2 separate regions of the Homo sapiens genome follow, and region 2 is linked to region 1. The links are contacts of gene promoters, found by promoter capture Hi-C in human tissues and cell types (Jung and others, 2019). All regions are on one chromosome and are shown on one strand. The core of a region is centred on a gene start or on the middle of the fragment in contact, and the rest is flanking DNA. Distances in the headings are between cores, read along the strand shown. Region 1 holds the start of CFL1 (cofilin 1). Region 2 overlaps VPS51 (VPS51 subunit of GARP complex).

Region 1 (3,628 bases), core at 1,129-3,628:
GCGCTGCTCTAAGTGGTTGGTCAGGGGCGCTGTCTCTAACGATCTTTTCCCTTGGCTCCACTCCAGCCAGCCTTTGAGACGCGCCCTTTCCCAGCCCCCGGAGCCTGGACCGGCTCCTTCCTGTCACCCCAGATTCGAGAGCGGGGTCTTTGTGTAGGCGAGAGGAAGGCGGACAGCGCCCCCTGTGACGGGGAGGACTGGCTGGGCGGCGCTTAACGGACTAACCTGAGCTTGGCGGCTCTAAGGTCTCTTAAGATTGTCAGCTTCAGCCTCAAGCTTGAAGGAGGCTGGAGATGGAGACTGGTCTTGAAAAGAGTCCAGGAGAGGCGGGGGCTAGGAGACAAACGGGTGCAAACGTATTGGTGGGAGGGACACCCAGAAATGGGTGCCGGGGATGAGGACACAAAGGTAAGGCAGGAGGAGCTGCAGGACCCTTGGAGGAAATGGTGATCCTCATCCCCGGGATACAGGGCAAAGAGTGTGTGGTGGAGAGGAAGTCGGGGACGTGCCGAGAAGGCCCAAAATAGAACTCGGAATGTCGGGGGTCAGAGGCCTAGAGGAAGGAGGACTGTAAGTAAGAGGTGCTTGGGCATCCTGGCAGTTGGGGAGGCCTGAGATGGGCACGCGGTTGGGTTTGGGAGCGGAGGAGCAGGCTGCGGGTTAAGAAGCCCAGACACAGGTAGAGGGGAGAACACTTCGTCATTTTTGTGGCTAATCGGAAGTGGGAGACCCTCAGGGAGGTTGAAGATGGAAACCCTACAAAGGGCTTCAACCTGAGAAGCCTGAAAGACACGTATAGCTGAGTTGGACACAGGCGACCCGCCAGGGTTTGAAGCAGCACCCGGCCTCTAGCTGCTATGCCGGAAGTCGCAACACGCAGGTCTCCAGCCTGCGAGGAAGGGAGAGGTGGGCGCCAGAGCTCCAGTCCCGCCCCTCAGGACTGTGCCTAGCCCACGGCGCAGTAGCCCCAGCCAAGCTAAATTGGACCAATGGGCTCCGGCTCCCGCCTCCCGCCCGCCGCGGCCTTATAAGGAGCCTCAAGCCGGCTGTCGGGCTGGCCCCGCCCCCTCGAGTCTCTTGTCCTAATAAGGACATCTAGGGCATCCCGCGGCTGGGGGCGGGCGAGAGCGCGTCTCCAGGGTAACTGCGAAGCCCCCCTCTCTCTCCCCGTTGCTCTTGGAAACTCTAAGGCTCAGAAAAGGGGGCGCTAGCCTCATATTCATGTAGGGTCGCTCGCGGGAGGCGGGGTCAAGCTGCTGTCTCCACCTGGAGCGCCGGGAGTCCGGGCGGGGGCGGTGCTGTGGAATGTCCCCGACTACAACCCCCGGTATGCTCTGCAAGGTACCCCACTCCCAGGCATCGCTCTCCGTTTACACCCTTAATTCCGTTTATAGGATTAGGGCCCCCAGTTCCCTTTCTGGGTTTGCCTCTGACTTGTTTGCGACCCAGTCTTTTCCTGCAGAGTGTGAGGCTGTGGTCACTGTTCTAGAACAACAAAATCATCCCGGAGTCCCCCGCTCGTTTCTTTTTTTTTTTAAGGCATATACTACCACAGAACTTGTCTCAGTTTTGCGGATGTTAGAATAACCATGTACCTGGCTATCAACTCGAGAGCTGGGTTCAAGTCTGGTTTAATATCTATTTCTTCTCATTGGCACGTAAAGGCATGTAAAGAAGCCTTGAATTGAATGCACAAACCCTCGTCTTTACCCTTTAACGCCTCATGACTTTGCCAAACATCTTTAAACAAGAACAAAGCTCTCAGAGATTTCCTTGTACCTTTCCCCTGTGCCTTTTCCTCCTATTCTTGTTTTACTGACGTTGGACATGGCCTTTTTTCAGGAGACGAGAGTGGCTTTACACATGCAGAGTACTAGTGTTTATCCGACTGACGACGCCTTCATACTTGTGATTTCCTTTGCTTTAGGTCGGGATTCCAGGCTAATCAATAGTTGCTTCGATTCAGAAATGCAAAACCCTAACCTCACTCAAAAATTTCAGGCCAAGGGATCCAGATAATACCAGATGGGTCTTAAGAAAGCCGTTTTGCTGTGGGATAAAGAGCCGCTTAGTCGGGGATCGTTTTCGGGTCATTTTACTGAGCGCCGCCTCGCCGGGCTCAGAGCGGTTCCTGGGAAATTGGACCAATGGGCTCGCGCTGCGCGCTGCGGTGCCGCCCAGGACCTGGGCCTACATTTCCCTACATGCACTGCAGCTCGGAGCCGGCCGGCGGGAAGACTCCGTTACCCAGCGAGCGAGGCGGCGGCGCAGGGCCAGCGGACTCCATTTCCCGTCGGCTCGCGGTGGGAGCGCCGGAAGCCCGCCCCACCCCTCATTGTGCGGCTCCTACTAAACGGAAGGGGCCGGGAGAGGCCGCGTTCAGTCGGGTCCCGGCAGCGGCTGCAGCGCTCTCGTCTTCTGCGGCTCTCGGTGCCCTCTCCTTTTCGTTTCCGGAAACATGGTGAGCGGCAGGCCACGGCGCCTGAGGGAGGCGGCTGCGGGTCGGTCGCCTGCGCGCGGGAAGCGACTGGGGAGCGACGTCCGCACCCCCTCCCCCAGCGCCCCGGGCGGGATGAGGGTCTCGCACGAAGGGGCGGGCGGTGCCGGAATGCGCGTGCGCGCCCGTGGGCGCCGGGGAGGGCCGGTCTGGACGTCGCTCGCGCTCCGCCTGGGCTCCCCTCCCCCACCCGCTGGTGCGCCCGCGCGGACACCGGCCGCGGGGGGAGGGGTTCGGGGCGCGCGCTGGGGCGCCCCTCGCGGAACGGCCGGCGTCGCGCCTTTCTTCTTAGGGGCGCGCTCTCGACTGGAGCATGCGGCGTCCAAACCCGGCCCGGGGGCGGCGAGGAAAAAGCGCGCGAGAGGTCTCGGCGCGCGCGCCCCACCCAAGGCTGTTCCTGTCTGCGCGTCACCCTCCCTCGGCAGCCGGGTCCGTCTCGGGAGCAGGTGGCAGGGATGCCTGCGCCCGGGAGGGGCGGGTGCTGGCGCGGCGAGGGGTGATGCTGGGAAGACGGGGTCCCGGTTGGGGCGTGGGTGCCTGCGATTAAGGCCTTGCACCGCAAGGCTTGGAGGGGGCATCGCAGAGACCGCGGCCCGTTCGGGAGCGCATCTAACGAGCTGCGTTCTCACCCGTGCATCGGGCGAGGGCTGGAACGGCGCTGTCTGTCGGCGCGTGCGCGCACGCTCAGGCCCGGCCGCCGGTGCCGAAGCCCTGGGCCAGCGAGGCCTTCCCGGATGGGCCTGAGTGAGGGTGGAGCCGAGTTTAGGGAAGTGACCCAGGCGGGCACCGCCCGGAAACCACCCCGCCCCCTGTATACGGCCCGAGGGCTGAGAAAACCGAAGGTTATGTAGCTTGCCCAGGCTCCTGCCTGCAGGAGATGGGTCTGATACACCCGTTGTTTTAGGGCGATTCCACAGGGTTAGGGACCTGGAGATGCTGCTGCCTCTCGGATACGCGTTTCTGCATTGGTGAGGGGGCCGGGCCCAGCCGATCTCCTGTCCCCGCCCACTCCGGATGCGGCCGAGTCACGTGGCCGGCTTCTTCTGCAGTTCCGGGGAGTTTGGGGGACCAGATTTACCTTGGATTGCCCCTCCCTCTCCTGGCTCGGGCACCCCGAAGCACGACGCAGAG
Region 2 (6,326 bases), core at 2,731-5,230, 760 kb after region 1:
TTACTATAAACAATAAGAGATACCACTTTTCACTTCTCAGATTGTCAAAGATTGAAAGAGGTATTCTCTTCTTTGCTGGTGGTTATGCAAACTGATCAGCATTTACAAAGAAGAATCTGGAAATATCTAACTGCAATCACTTGTGAGCCTTCACACACCCACACCTGGTCTGTGTGTGGCTCTGGGACTGTAGGAATGTTCTCCAAGCAACACTGGGAATCTACCCCACTTGGGGAGACAGCTGGAAGGGTGAGTAAGGAGAAAAGCATTGATGTCAATTTGACAAGAAACAAACAGAAACAAAAAATGCAGGAAAAAAATATTAGAGAAAATATAAGAGAAAGAACTGTCTGAGACAAAGAATCTACAGGGCTCACATCTGTAGAGCTATTAAGGGATTTTTTAAAAAATTACATGGAAAGGTAGATTACGTATCAGCAAAATGGACTTTTCATTTTAACAACACAGTCCACAAGAAAGGATCATTTAGCCCTCTTAGAGATGATTTCATAGAAAGGAAGGTTACTAAGGAATAAAATCACATGATGTGAAACATCTATATTACTTTTGGGACCATAGGGACCATTGCCTGCATTTTGTTGGGGAAATCATAATTATTTTGAGTTTCTTTGCTTGAGATAGGGTCTTGCTCTGTCTACAGGCATGGTGATGCACACTTATAATCCCAGCTACTCAGGAGGCTAAGGCAGGAGAATCACCTTAACTGGGGAGGCGGAGGTTACAGTGAGCCAAGATGGCATGCAGTGGTGCAAACACAGCTTACTGCAGCCTTGAACTCTGGGGCTCAAGTGATCCTCCTACCTTAGCTTCTGAAGTAGCTGGGACTACACACAAGCGCCATCACACCCGGCTAATTTTTTAATTTTTGTTTAAATTTTGTGTAGAGATGGGGTCTCTCTATGTTGCCCAGGCTGGTCTCAAACTTCTGGGCTCAAGCAATGCTCCCACTTCAGCCTCCCAAAGTGCTGGGAGCACAGGAGTGAGCCACTGTGCCTGGCAAGAAAATTTTTCTTGCCAATTCATAGATGGTGAACTAAAGGACATAGCAAAGGCAGCGCTATGCAGTGAAAAACAATAAAAGCAGAGCCGAGGCTGAGGTTCGTAAAGGGATCATGGGCTACTGATCTAAGGGAGACAGACAGAGGCTTGGCAGTTGATGAGGCATTTGGTCTTCACCCAGTGAATTACTGGTTTTGTTTACAGGCCATGTGACACAATCTCCTTCCAGGTCTGCCAAAAGCTACCATGAAAAGAGCAGACTCTTTTGGTAGTGGGTGTTTGAGCCCATGACACTTAGGGGCTACCTCAAGAAGGAAGCTTGAATCCAACTTCTAAAGGGTAAAATCCAAACACTAAGTTGTTAGGAAAATAGAGTAAAAGAAAACCCAACAGTGCTGTGTGCTGTCATTGTCGCTGCCTTCCCAGCCATGGAGCCATTACACTGGAGATAAAAGTTGTACCATATCCAAAAACAACAGTGAAAGCATCCACACCATTCAGTCACAAAGACTACACTGTTTATCTTTGCATTTCAAGCTTGTTAAGAAAAGCAGGCTGGGCACAGTGGCTCACGCCTGTAACCCCAGCACTTTGGGAGGCCAAGGCAGGTGGATCACCTGAGGTCACCTGCCTGACCAACATGGTGAAATCCCGTCTCTACTGAAAATACAATAATTAGCCAAGTGTGGTGGCAGGTGCCTGTAATCCCAGGTACTTGGAAGCCTAAGACAGGAGAATCACTTGAACCCCGGAGGCGGAGGTTGCAGTGAGCCGATTGGGCCACTGCACTCTAGCCTGGATGACAGAGCAAGACTCTGTCTCAAAAAAAAAAAAAAAAAAAAGCTTGTTAAGAAAAGCAGTTTGTAACCAGGGAGAGTGAAAGCCATCTGGATGCGAGGATGTTGGCTACCTTGGGAGGGGACTGGGTGGTAACTGGTAGGAGGCTCAGGGGGCTTTGCTGGTTATGCTGTTTCCCGACCTGGATGCTGATTATGTGACTGTGCTCCCTTTGTGAAATCCATGGAGCTGTCCACTTATGTGCACTTTTCTGTATGTCTGTTAATTTTCTTTTTTTTTTTTTTTTTTTTTTTTTTTTTGAGACAAGGTCTGGCTCTGTCACCCAGGCTGGAGTGCAGTGACACAATCTTGGCTTACTGCAACCTCTGCCTCCCAGGTACAAGCCTTCCACCTCAGCTTCCTGAGCAGCTCGGACTACAGGGACACAACACCACACCCAGCTAATTTTTGTATTTTTTGTAGAGACAGGTATAACCTGTTGGCCAGGATGGTCTCGAACTCCTGAGCTCAAGCAATCTGCCTGCCTCTGCCTCACAAAGTGTTGGGATTATAGGTATGAGCCATAATCCCACCTGGGCTCTGTTAATTTTCAGTGAAATGTACTGTCAAAGACTGCTTTGTCTTTGCCTAGAGAAAAGAATTAGGAGAGGCTTTTCCCTGTATAATGTTTGAGATCTTTCTAATTTTGACACAAGTAAATGCATTATTACATAATGAAACTCAATGTCTAGGTGAGAGGTTGGCAAACTACAGCCTGCAGGCCAAATCTGGCTCAATGCCTGGTTTTCTTTTTAATTGGGATATAATTGACATACCAATTCAGTGGTTTTTAATATGTTTAATATATTCACAAGGTTGTACAACCAACCTCACTACGTAATTCCAGAACATTTCATCATCCCCTAAAGAAACCCTGTAACCCTTGGCAGTCATTCCTTATTCCCCCACTCCTAGAACTTGGCAACCATTAATCTAGTTTCTGTCTCTATGGATTTGTCTATTCGCTACAGAATACATTTAACAGAAATGGAATCATAGGCATATGAAACATTAGCATGTTTCCAAGGTTAATCTATGTTGTAGCCTGTGTCAGTATGTTATATCTATTTTTATGGCTGAATAATATTCCACTGTGTGGATATTTGTTTATATTCATTCAATTGATGGCCATTTGGATTGCTTCCACCTTGTGGCTATTATAAAAAGTGCTGCTATTGGCCAGGCATGGTGGCTCTTGCCTGTAATCCCAGTACTTTGGGAAGCCGAGGCAAGCGGATCACTTGAGGTCAGGAGTTCAAGACCAGCCTGGCCAACAAGGTGGAATCCCGTCTCTAGTAAATATACAAAAAATAAAAATAAAAAAATTAGGCGGGTGTGATGGTGCACACCTATAATCCCAGCTACTCAGGAGGCTGAGGCAGGAGAATCGCTTGAACTGGGGAGGCGGAGGTTACAGTGAGCCAAGATGGCACCACTGCACTCTAGCCTGGGTGACAGAGCTAGACTCCATCTCAAAAAAAAAAAAAAAAAAAAAAACACTGCTATGAACACTTGTGTACATGTTTTTATGTGAACATGTTTTCAATTCTCTTTGGTATATTCCTAGGAGTAAAATTGCCGATCATATGGTAATCTTGTGTGTGGTTTTGAAGAATGGTCAAACTGTCTTCCACACTGGGTGCAGCATTTTGTGGTTTGGATTTGCATTTCCCTAAGACCTAATGATGCTGAGCATATTTATATGTGCTTTTCGGCCACTTGTATGTTTTCTCTGGAGAAGTGTCTATTCAAATCCTTTGCCCATTTTAAATTAGGGTTATTTGTCTTTTTAGCCCTGAGCTAAAAAACGTTCTTTTTATGTTCTGAACACTAGATTTTTATTAGATAACTAACTTGCAAATATTTTCTCCCATTCTGTGGGCTGTCCTTTTATTATTATTTATTATTATTATTATTTTTGAGACGGAGTCTCGCTCTGTTGCCCAGGCTGGAGTGCAGTGGCGCGATCTCGACTCACTGCAACCTCCGCCTCCTGGGTTCAAGCGATTCTCCTGCCTCAGCCTCCTGAGTAGCTGGGACTACAGATGCCTGCCACCATGCCTGACTAATTTTTGTATTTTTAGTAGAGATGGGGTTTCACCATATTGGCCAGCCTGGTCTCAAATGCCTGACCTCAGATGATCCACCCGTCTCGGCCTCTCAGAGTGCTAAGATTATAGGCATAAGCCACCGCACCTGGCCTTTTTATTTATTTATTTATTTTTTGAGACTAGGTCTTGCTCTGTCACCCAGGCTAGAGTGCAATGGTGAGATTATAGCTCACTGCAATCTCCAGCTCCTGGGCTCATGTGATCCACCCACCTTAGCCTCCCCAAGTAGCTGGGTTTATTCTAACAAGTGTGTGCCACCATACCCAGCTATTTTTTTTTTTCTAGATATCGGGTCTCACTATGTTGCACAGGCTGGTCTCAAACTCCTGGGCTCAAGTGATCCTCCCACCTCAGCCTTCCAAAGTGCAGGGATTACAGGCATGAGCCACTGTGCTCAGCCCCATCCATTCCTGCCAGTGCAGCTGGAGGAATCTATTCAAACCAGAAATCTGAGCACATCACTCATTTGTTTTAGCTCTCTGTGGATAAAAGCCAAATCCCTAATACATTCTGGAAGGTTTCTAGTTAAACTGCACATCTACTATCTGCCTGGCTCTGCCCACATTCTGCTTCCCCTCCTGCTACCATAGATGAGCTCCCGGCCCTTTGCTGAGGCCGATGCCTCCATCCCTGCTCTGTTCCACCCCCCTCCTTCCTGAGGACCTAGTTCCTTTCTCATTTTTCTCTCTCTCTTGCCCAATCAACACACACTCCATGCTACATTACTTTCCTGAGTGTCTCGCCCAAGTCTATCAAATCTATGTCTTGAAACACCTTCCTCACGCAACCTCCACCTCCTGGGTTCAAGCAATTCTCCTGCCTCAGCCTCATGAGTAGCTTGGACTACAGGCATGCACCACCTTGCCCAGCTAATTTTTGTATTTTTAGTAGAGACAGGGTTTCACCATGTTGGCCAGGCTGGTCTTGAACTCCTAGCCTCAAGTGATCCACCCACCTCAGCCTCCCAAAGTGCTGGGATCACGGGTGAGAACCCCATGCCCGGCCCCTCACTTAAGCTTCTAAGACATCAATGCTCCTGGTTATCCTCACACTTTTCCAAACGTTTGTTCCTTTTGTGGGATGTACAAAAAGAGCTAAGTCTCAAAATATTATTATACACATTCCAACAAATGGAAAATGTAATCTTATTAAATTCCTGTGAGAAATATCCCAGCACAGAAACTATGATTTCTTGCCATTTTGATGCTGGTATTAGCTAACAGAAAGGTGCCTACTCATGGAATCTGCTTCAAATCAGATAAAAGAACAATGTGTATAGGTTACCACACCCACCACTGTGACACGAGAGTAAGACATCAGAATGCAACCCCACAGATGCTCCCAGAACATTCCACAGGCTGCAGGTAAACCCTTTGGATCTGGCTCCTGGACTTACTACACGTGGGTGTACAATTACTACAAAAGTCTGAGTAGTACATCTCCTCAAAACAGCACAGAAGCTAGTGTGGAAAACAGTGGAACACTGTCTGGCACTAGAGAATAAAGAGGACAGAAGAAAAAAAAAGCCTCGACATGATCTTTGTGTCCCCTAATATCATACATCTTCTCTCTTTGCTTAGTTAAGGAGGGAAGGAAGGGAGAAAGAAAGGGAGGGACAAGACCACCTATTCTTCCCTGGAGCAGAAAAGAAAGCTATCAATAATAAGAGAAACTACACCTTACTGAGGTTTCCTTGATGTCAGGGATTCTTCTTCTTATTATTTTTTTTTTCAGACAGAGTCTTGCTCTGCTGCCTAGGCTGGAGTGCAGTGACGTGATCTTGGCTCACCGCAGCCTCCACCTCCCAGGTTCAAGTGATTCTCCCACTCAGCCTCCTGAGTAGCTGGGATTACAGGTGCCTGCCACCACACCCAGCTAATTTTTTTATTTTTAGTAGAGATGGGGTTTCACCATATTGGCCAGGCTGGTCTCGAACTCCTGACCTCAGGTGATCCACCTGCCTCGGCCTCCCAAAGTGCTGGGATTACAGGCATGAGCCACTGTGCCCAGCCTAGTGTCTGGGATGCTTCTTCAGATAGATACTTTCTTTTTTTTGAGACAGGGTCTTGCTCTGTTGCCCAAGTTGAAGTGAAGTGGTACAAGCACAGCTCACTGCAGCCTCGACCTCCCAGGCTCATGTGATCCTCCCTCCTCAGTCTCCTGAGTAGCTGGGACTACAGGCATACGCCATCTTGTCCAGCTAATTTTTATTTTTTATTTTTTTGTAGAGATGGAGTCCCACTATATTTCCCAGGTCAATCTTAAACTCTTAGGCTCAAGTGATCCTCCCACTTCAGCCTCCCAAAGTGCTGGGATTACAGGCATGAGCCACCATGCCTGGCCTTTTAAGTGCTTCAG

What was found. The method cuts DNA at HindIII sites, captures the fragments that hold promoters and counts their contacts. A contact is called where the count stands out against the background at its distance.
Region 2: a contact is called between a fragment that was not itself captured here and the fragment with the promoter of CFL1 in region 1, in 1 of the 25 tissues and cell types used here (spleen).

The regions. Positions count from the first base shown.
Region 1 is chr11:65,856,930-65,860,557 of GRCh38, reverse strand. CFL1 (cofilin 1) reads left to right here and starts at 2,378. Exons shown (of 4, transcript NM_005507.3): 1 at 2,378-2,461. The coding sequence starts at 2,459. It overlaps MUS81 (MUS81 structure-specific endonuclease subunit), which reads right to left and starts at 125. Exons shown (of 16, transcript NM_025128.5): 1 at 1-125. RefSeq lists enhancers at 1-102, 1,173-1,262, 1,823-1,892, 2,283-2,332, 2,266-2,806 and 2 more and silencers at 923-1,002, 2,413-2,812. The HindIII fragment of the contact is 15,299 bases long and covers 1-3,628 here.
Region 2 is chr11:65,097,554-65,103,879 of GRCh38, reverse strand. The region is part of intron 2 of VPS51 (VPS51 subunit of GARP complex); the gene reads right to left. Among named protein-coding and RNA genes, the nearest start is that of VPS51, 4.5 kb to the right of the region's middle. RefSeq lists a silencer at 1,349-1,643. The HindIII fragment of the contact is 4,540 bases long and covers 1,711-6,250 here.